3 separate regions of the Homo sapiens genome follow, and all the other regions are linked to region 1. Evidence: promoter capture Hi-C in 16 types of primary human blood cells and fetal thymus (Javierre and others, 2016). All regions are on one chromosome and are shown on one strand. The core of a region is centred on a gene start or on the middle of the fragment in contact, and the rest is flanking DNA. Distances in the headings are between cores, read along the strand shown. Region 1 holds the start of LUM (lumican). Region 2 has its middle 47 kb from the start of LINC02458. Region 3 has its middle 22 kb from the start of LINC02458.

What was found. The method cuts DNA at HindIII sites, captures the fragments that hold promoters and counts their contacts. A CHiCAGO score of 5 or more calls a contact.
Region 2: a contact is called between a fragment that was not itself captured here and the fragment with the promoter of LUM in region 1, in 1 of 17 cell types (neutrophils). The highest score is 6.5, in neutrophils.
Region 3: a fragment that was not itself captured here is called in contact with the fragment with the promoter of LUM in region 1 in 1 of 17 cell types (neutrophils); the score reaches 5.1 in neutrophils.

The regions. Positions count from the first base shown.
Region 1 is chr12:91,109,821-91,113,007 of GRCh38, reverse strand. It overlaps LUM (lumican), which reads left to right and starts at 1,514. Exons shown (of 3, transcript NM_002345.4): 1 at 1,514-1,610. The HindIII fragment of the contact is 5,015 bases long and covers 1-2,751 here.
Region 2 is chr12:88,971,477-88,974,663 of GRCh38, reverse strand. No RefSeq gene overlaps it. Among named protein-coding and RNA genes, the nearest start is that of LINC02458, 47 kb to the left of the region's middle. The HindIII fragment of the contact is 1,571 bases long and covers 674-2,244 here.
Region 3 is chr12:88,996,154-88,999,340 of GRCh38, reverse strand. No RefSeq gene overlaps it. Among named protein-coding and RNA genes, the nearest start is that of LINC02458, 22 kb to the left of the region's middle. The HindIII fragment of the contact is 1,857 bases long and covers 670-2,526 here.

The sequences.
Region 1 (3,187 bases), core at 265-2,764:
ATAAATACCACAACACATGTATTGCTTTATAAAGAAAAATCTTAAGGAATGGATAGGTGGAGTTTTTCTAACAAGAGCTCAGATTATAGAATTTGATACACTCAAAATTAATACATAGCATTGTTTTAAGAATCCTCTTATAACAAGATCACTTAATTATATTCGATTGATTTGTCTTTTTTTCTTAATTCCTTATAAATTTATTCAGTTACTTTGTTGAAACTGAGGCCTATCAATAATTTTCTTAAAATAATATTAGGAAAAATGTTATGTTTATGAATCATCTTACAATTCCATTAGTTACTTTCAAGAAGATTACTTTTTGTTTTTGAACACTGCTATTACAAAAATAAGCCATTTATTCTAATAGTCTTTTTTTCGGACAAATGCAGTATTAGTCATGGAGTTAATTTTCCACAAGTCTCACTGCTAAAATGTGATATAGTTATTTTTAAAGACAAAAATACAATGTGACAACTTATATTAAAATATATTGGTGTAAAAGTTCTTATAAACATGAGGAAATGAACATTTTAGAAAAAAATCTCATAAATATATCTGATAAAATCACAAAATGAAATAGACAAGGATTTAAGTACATCTCTCATTTGCTGAAACCATGCATCAGGAGCTGATAATGAAAGATATATCCAGCCAGGCCTTTGGGAGATTATAACTTTGAATAACTTTTAACTTTGAAAAAAAATTACTAGCATGCAATGAAAGATTCTTGCCTTGTGATACTTTTAGTATAAATTTATTTTTTTCTCTGTTCTTTTATGTTTTTTGGCATTAAGCTATAGAATGCTCTCCCCAAGTAAGGTTTTGGGTGAATTCCTAAACGAAATCCACAAAATAAAAAACAGGCAAGACTTTGCTGATTGGTTCCAGACCTGAATAACATAAAATGAGTCTCCTTAGCATTAGAAGTAAACTTGAAATGTTGATATTTATCATGTGTATCCAAGTGTATATGAAGCATATTTTATATTTTTAAAACTAATGTAAGCTACCCTCATGGCCAAAAAATTAAGTTAGTCCAAGTAAATCAATATTGATTTCAAAAGTGATAGGCAAAGGGATTCAATTCCTCTGAGTCTGTTCATTTGCGTTTTCCTGAAATTATTTGCCCTGCTTATGATTTCTGAGATCTTTAGATAAACATGATAGTTGGCTGAGCACATTGCACTTAATTGTTGCCACAGCCACAGATGTAAAGAGGCTTGTAAGAAAAATGTTCTCACAGTGAGCTTCCTTATTTGAAGCAGGACTCAATTCTTGGTTAAAAGCTATGGTATTTGAGCTAGTTAAACACATATCTCTCTCCCATTCCATAGGGAATGAGCTGGGCTGTCCTTTCTCCCCACGTTCACCTGCACTTCGTTAGAGAGCAGTGTTCACATGCCACACCACAAGATCCCCACAATGACATAACTCCATTCAGAGACTGGCGTGACTGGGCTGGGTCTCCCCACCCCCCTTCAGCTCTTGTATCACTCAGAATCTGGCAGCCAGTTCCGTCCTGACAGAGTTCACAGCATATATTGGTGGATTCTTGTCCATAGTGCATCTGCTTTAAGAATTAACGAAAGCAGTGTCAAGACAGTAAGGTAAGTGCTGTTTTAACTATTGCACTGGGGATGTTAACTGTTTGGGACAGCGTTTTTTGTAACAGGAACAGGAAAAATTCCAGAGCAATTTTGCCAATTGCTATTCAACAGCAAATCCACAGTTCTGAGCATTTAGTTTCACATTTTGTTAATATGTTTTCCATGATTTATAGATTTGAGATTTTATACAGTATATGCTGTATTGCTTGGCAAGAGAAGTTATAAAAAGTTTCAAGGTTAGAATGAGAAAATAGTTAAAGTAGACACAGTGAAAAAATATAGAAATTAATATGTTTGTTATGTATGCTAGTTAGTTATATATGTTAGTATTGGACCCTAATACTGGAGCAAAGAAAAGTCATTTTAATCAGCATTCAAAATATCTTTTAATAAGCATATTGTGACAATTTGTTATAATTTACAATAAACGTTCTATGTTATAAAACATGAGCTAAAAGATTTAGGAACTCTTATGGATTATTTATTTCTGTTTTGTTAATTTAAAAAATTTGTTTCTTGGATATATGCCTTAAGGAACGAGTTTTTTAAAAAGTTCTGGGAAATGATTTCGTTTTTGAAAACAGCATTTTCTCTATAGCCACAGGTATTTGAAAAAACTGAGGGTAGTACAGTGTGATTTTGCCTCATAGTGGAGTCATTATATGGTTGCAAACTCTCATTCAATTCAGCATCCTTGTTTTTACTTTGCCAAAAAATATGGAAGCATTTTTCATTACTATTTAATACTCACATTATAGTTGCCATATTTTGGTGTATAGTAAATTTAAAATAGCTTATTAATAAAGCAAGACAAATCTTTACAGTATTTACATTCTATAACTTAAAATAACTCTGGGAATATGTCATCACGTTCTTTTTAGTGCTATGCAATTATTATTATGGCCAAGTTCTGTCAGCAAAATTAAATGCCCCCATTAAAATCTTAGAGAGTAATTTACTGAGAATCTGGCTACATGTTACCTTATGTCAGCAATCAAAGTATTTCTAAAAGCTGTTTTATAACGTTCCATCTGATCTGAAATAAAGTGCCTTACAATTTCAAATTAAAACAAATAAAAGACGTTTTCAGTTTCTAACCCCAAAGATCCTGCTTATCCCAAACTACTTTGATCCAAAAGCTTGTAATCATACTTTCATAGAAAGATATAATATTCTCAGTTATCTATTAGAATGTAGATCTTTCGTCACATTAATGATTTATCTCCCAGGGCTACCAACTTTGCCTCAGCCACAACTGTTCACTCTATAAAAGTCTAACTCTTATATTCCAATTTTCCCATATCTAAATTGCTGCACCTAAGACATTGAAATGTACTTTTTTGAGCCTCACCTTAGAAACATGTTCCTATGAGAAGATAACTGTTACACATTATTTCAAATTCATATTCTCAATTGAATAATTTACTAGATAGTTCTAACACCAGTATTAAATCCAAACTTTAAAAACATCACACCTCTCTCCCACCTCCATTCTGTGAGGCCACTAAAAGCCAGATATGCAAACCATGGCATCTTCGATTTTGGCATGAAGAAAGTAGAGAACTTGTGAGTAATTG
Region 2 (3,187 bases), core at 210-2,709, 2.1 Mb after region 1:
GTTTGTCATCCTCAAAATAGGAGAAAGGAGACACAGAAATAAGATAGAAGAGGTTAAGTAAAAATCCTGTAGTCTTGAATTTAAATTGGAAGATATAGTAGGGATTTTGATGTGATTTATCTTAAAAATAATTCCTAGCTTAGTCTAATGAAAAGGCCTAGAAACCATGGTTAACCAAAGAGTAATAAGCCCTCTAACACTCGGATTTTTATTCTGAAATACTATTTCCCACTAAAGCAAACCACAATTCCTGGGACAGGAAATGTACAAGATGAGTTTGAAATATTTTACCAAGGAGGCTATTAAACACTATTAAGGTAGTGTTAAAAAGATTCAGGAATCAACCTAAAGAAGATCCACTGGCAAAAGAGAAAACAATTCCAATTATACAAGAAAAACCATATATTCTATAGTTGTTTGAGCAGTGTTTTATATATAAGACTACGTAAACTCTTAGTCATCATTTTTACAATTTCTTTTTATCTGCTGATTTTTGTCTGATTATTCTTTCAGTAACTGGACCTGTATCCATATATTACAATAAATGCAACTTCATAAAAAGATGAAGCAATCTGATTATCAATAAAGATGTAAGCTGCAATGACTTTAATACTAAATACATTTAAATCAATGGGTTCATAATAATACTTATCCAAAAAAAAAAAAGAAAGCTTACCATCAACAAAATGTACTAGCTTCAGAATGCGGAGAACCAATTTATTCTTTTTAAAATTTAGAAGTTGGGAGAAGGATTAAGCATTTACCCTATGTTTCCTATGTTGTACCATTAAGTAACCAAATGGAAAGCAAGGGAAAGTTTCTCATTATAGAAATATTTTAAGAAATAAGTGAAGAAATGATAGAATTGCAATATTTTTCTCATTCTTCCCCAGCCCCAGTGATCCCCATTAGGGCTCAAGACCATGGCATCAATTACAGCTTATAAAATAAAAGAGAGACAACGTGACTTCTGATGGAACAGTGCATCATCTCTAAGGTAGCCTTGCAAAAAAAATATCAAATCTGAATCGGATCATGCCTTAGATTTAACAGTTGACAGAAAAAATAGAGAACATGGGAATCTCCTAATGACACCACAGGGATGCAATTAGAAAAATCCTGACTGAGGGAAATTTTAAAGATCTCAAAAGATCTAATGATTCAGTCTTTCTGACAAATAGGTATCAAGAGAATAAAATGAAAATGCCTATAAATTAAGATAGATTTATGGAACTTATTAATCACATTCGATGTGCTAAACTGGTAAATAAAGGGAAAGAATCAACCATTTATCTTGTGTTTCCTATTCAAACTGGGATAATCAAAATAGAATTTCTTCTCCGAGTCCCTGAGAATGGGGCACGTATTTAACCAAATCACAAACTACGTTTATTAACCACGTAACTTATTCATCACACTTTGTTATTCTCTGGGATTTGTAGTTTCACAAACCAGCACCTGCCTTCTGATTCTCTTTTCCAGCCTGTATTTTGGACACTGAACCAATCGCATGGAGATTTATTTTTTAGCTGGTGAATCTTTCATTATGTAAATGTTAATGTATTATTAATGATAATAATAATGCTAATAATAATGTGACTAATTTCTTAAGTCTTCCTTATGTGCAAGGAACTGTGTATTGTGTCATTTACTTGCCCAGTGATAGTAATGTAGGCATTTTAGGATTCCCATCTTACAGATGAGGGAACCAAGGCTTTAAAAATTTAATAAATTGCTTGTGAGCCCACAGCCAATATCAAGCTAGAAACGTGCACCTGAGAACATGATTCCCTGTCCAGGGCTGTTACTTTCACCAAGTACTTAATTTGACATAAATGTAAAGGAAGAGATTGCCTTTTTGGTTAAATGTTCTCTGACACTAGAAATACAGTTAAAGGCTCTTAAAAGGCTCTATAGCTTCTAAGATGAATAACATGAATTGAAAATACAATGAAAAGTGTACCCCTTTTGTAGCTGGGGGATTCTTGCCTTTGCATCTAGACTGGAGTTCTGCTTTAAATGGGTTGCCATTTCAGGATTGCTTTAGGGATCAATGATAGTAAAGAGGAATGTTTTAGTCTAATAATATTAACCTGAATATATAAAATGTGCTATCTAGGGACAAAATGTACTTTTGCATTAGAGAATGAGAAAGGAAAAAAAATTAAAAACTGGAGCAGAGAGGTAGAAAGGTGAAGAGGAAAATAGGTTATGGAAATGAGGAGTCAGATTGGGAAATAAGCTTGATGAATAATTAGTGAGAGGGCAATGGGGTAGGTGTAAGGCTGGGCTCACTTTGCAACCTGCGTGCTGCGTGGAACCTGGAAAACCACTACATACTGTATAAAGTTTCCTTTTTTTGTCTTTAATGACAACAAGTCAAACACTACTAATGTCTCATAGAGGCCTGGGAGGCTACTGCACAGATCAGGTAATGACATTTATCTTACACCTACTCAGCATACAACTTCTGGGTTTTGGCATTCAGTTAAGATTCACTTGGAACCATATGGATGATACTGGCAATTATGTCACACTCTATTCAGGATGCAGTAGAATTTAGCAATGTTGTATCAAGATCCTATCATGGACTGTGACTTACTATTCTCACAAAATGAGAATGGTTTGGAACCTTTGACCTCCAAGAGCCATTCTTGAATCTATGATCCAGCTAGCTCCAGGAAGATGACTGGAAAATAGATTCTTAGGTTGTGTTTCAAAATACCAAAATGTACTTTGGGCATGATTTTTATTTTTCTTTTAATAAGATTAAATATTAAATATTATATTTAATGTATTAAATACATAATAATAATAAGCTAATGATGAAAGTATTTTGAGCATGAAAAGCACCATCTCAGGTAGACTGTAAGGTATGAATAAGAATGCCCAAGGGTAGGCTGGGATGATTGATTCAAGACTCAAACAATTTTAATTTAAATCCTCCTTGACACAGGTTCACATAAATCAATGTCCCTGGGTCCTAACACTCTGTCTTACATTCCAGTACTTTCTGATATCTTTAGCTATTTATCTGACTTTGCTTAAAAATTCACAGCACAGAGATCAGAGGGTTACATTTCTCTTACCTATGTATACTACTCCTTTCCCAGTAATTCTGCATTTGTTAAAGGCTGATGTGCTTCTTAACACAAAGGGACTTGATTTATTCTGAGCCTTGAACTCT
Region 3 (3,187 bases), core at 349-2,848, 2.1 Mb after region 1:
GTAGAATAAGAAATTAGAGAGGCTGCCCTTTAAACTCTCCTTTCTCATTTATTTCAACTTCAACTCACAATGGCAAAATAATTAGATTTTTGACAGGTATATCTTTAATCTTTGAATATTAATTTCTCATGAGTCATATTGGACAATGATGCTAGACAAAATAGACAGTGAATTTCAGCACTGATATGGAGTGGGCTTGGAGCTAACATAACTAATTTACCACTCTGACATGTTCAGAACCTTTTGAGAGTTTACTCTACACTTGACTTTGGAGGGTGCTCTCTACATTAGCAGTGGTTCCAAGAAGAACCCAAAGGAGTAATGGTTGGTGTTAGAAAGAGGCCTTGTAAACATAGGAATGGGGCTACCCTAATAGAATGATCTTCTCCTTGTCTGATTATACTTTTAATGGTTAAACCCAGTAGATTAAGATAAAAACTGGAAATTGTCAGGAAGAACTTTTTTTTTTTTTTTTTTTTTTTGCTCCAGATACTTCATTTCCATCCACCCTCACTCGCTCCTCCCAATAAGGAGAGAATAACCTGACTATTGATTTGGGGTCTGGAACTGGGCAAGTGAATCTGGGAACTGACACTGCTCCCAGTTGCTCTCAAGATTATGGGCCACATTAATCTTAGTCATGAAAATCTTTTCCCCATGTGTGAAGCTTGTATCGGTCCAGTACTGACTGTGAGTAAGTCAGCCTAATTCCGGAGTTCAACATTATGAAACCCACTTCTCTGCCAGATGTAAGCTACATTTCCTGATACCAGCCTTGTAGGTTATAACAGTAATGTTTTTGTTCTTCATCTGTGAATTCTAGTTTCATTTGAGAGGGAAATATTCCATACTGCTGCTGTTGTCTTTTAAGTGGAACTATCTGCATTTGTATAACCTTCCTGACCTCTCTATATCCACTCACTTAGCACTTGGAGAGGTGAAGTGATTTACCATATGGGTGATTTTGCAAAAAGAAACCAGGCATGTCTTCATCTCTTCTACTTTGGAAGAGGTCTGACAATTACTCTTGACCATGTCATGAAGTTAGTGGTAAAGGCTTTCCCCTCTTATAGGAAAGGTCTGCCCTAACTTACACTATGTATTTTTTTTATTATTTTAGAATATTCAATTCTGTTGTAGAAGATAGGAAATACAAATGGGATTGATGAAACTCATTTAATATGTTTAATTATATATAAGTCAGTAACCTGTAAGATGACAGACATGGATAAAGTAATTAGAGCATATGAGTGCTAAACACAGATAAAAAGTAAAGAAGAATGAAGAGGATCTAAATATTTATAATTCATTAAATAGATATGAGGCACTGAAGCACCTAATACTGATGATATGCATGAAGCAGCAGTAAGTCTAAAATCGGTCATCCATTCTGGCCCTACAAGTTCTCTGCCCAGGAAAAGCAATTAAAAATTTATAGTTGCTTATCAGGTTAATTGCCCCTGGGTCTCTTCAACAGAGCAAGAATATATGTTGGCTCAGCCACCTTTTATCTGGAGACCCCCTTGCCTCAAAATTCAACTCTGGTCCTCACAACCCTATCATCAGGAGGGAAGACTGGTGCCACAGAGACACAGGATTCAGCTAGCGTGGTCCCTTTATCTTGCTTGCATCCTATCCTAACTGTATTAACTTATGCCATATCTTTCCCTTTTCTTCTTACTATGTTTTATATTAATTTAGTAAGCCATGTGATTTGAGCATCTTAACTTGACCAGTAAACCTCTCCATTCTATGACCTCTGGAATAGCTTGCCTCATGGTGTACTCGAAAGCCACCATTTTTAAATGCAATTTCCCACATGCTTAGACTGATTTTGTATTGGTTCAACACTACAAGAGAAGATGGGTTTACTAGAATTTTATATCTCATCCACCAGTAGATGAACAGATAATGTATGATTTATCCCTAGAATGAGTGCAATACAATTATTAAAGCGATTAAAATTTATTTAATGTAACAGGAACAAATGTAAAAAATGCAATATCAAATGTAAAAAACTTAATTACTGAAAGATACACACAATGCAGTCAATTTATATAAATGTTAAAAACCTACGAGTTACTAATTTTGGCTTAGAATCCAGTCTACCCTTCTCTCTTCCAACGAGAGAAGAGCCCATTGCCCAAGATTCAGCAATGTATATGGTTATACTGGCAGATATTATCCAGCCTCCCTTGAAGCTAGGTACAGCCATGAGTAAAATTCTGCCCCATATGGTGTGAATAGAATTATGTGTACAACTTCAATTTTATATCCATAAATGTGAAAGGGGGCTGCACATCCACCCTCCCTCTCTTTTCCCTTTCCAATGGCTAGAATGCAAGAATGCCAGCTTCAACTATGAAGACACCCGAGGTCATGATGCAGCAACAAGAGAGGGAATCTAGATCTTGGCTAATCTTGTGGGTAAAGACATCTGCCCTGAATTGCTAGCCTATCACTGGACTCTATGAGCCATGGAATTTTTGAACCATTATATTTTGGGGTTTCTTTTTTATAGAAGCTTAATATGCATCCTAATTAATATAACACAAAATGATACATTTATTTTCGATTCATATGCAATAAAGTAAAAATTTATGGGATGATGCACACCAGTTAGAGGATCATGGTTCACTCTGTGGAAGGAGAGAGTAAAAGGGATGGGGTAGTGCAAAGGTAGGTGATCTATAACTAGTAAGATGAATGCACAAAGTCATAAAAATCCAGACTCATTTTTTTTCCTTGCTCACTCACTCCATGTCACTTCCTTCCTCAAAGTCACAAGATGTTTGCTGGAATCCAGCCATCACATTCATATTCCAAGGAGAAAGCAATAAAATGGAGGAGAGAAAAAAAATTCATGCCAAATTAAGGTCACTTAAAGAGATTTTATGTAAATCCCACCCAAAAACATCTGCTTACATTTCTGTGTAGTCATGCCCTCTCTACTTTATGTTCCATGTTATAGTTAAAGCGACCCAGTGTTTTATGCATCAATAACTCCTCAAGCCTCAGAATTCAGTTCAGACCTTAAATTGGCAAATGAAGTCCCTCATGATCCAGCTATTATCCCTCCAGCTCCATCTTCTATACCTCCCTGCTTGCAGGCAATGCTCCAGACAGATCAAATGCTTTCAGTTCTTGAAAATTGCTACAATCTCTCTTGTTCCTTTGCCTTGGCAAC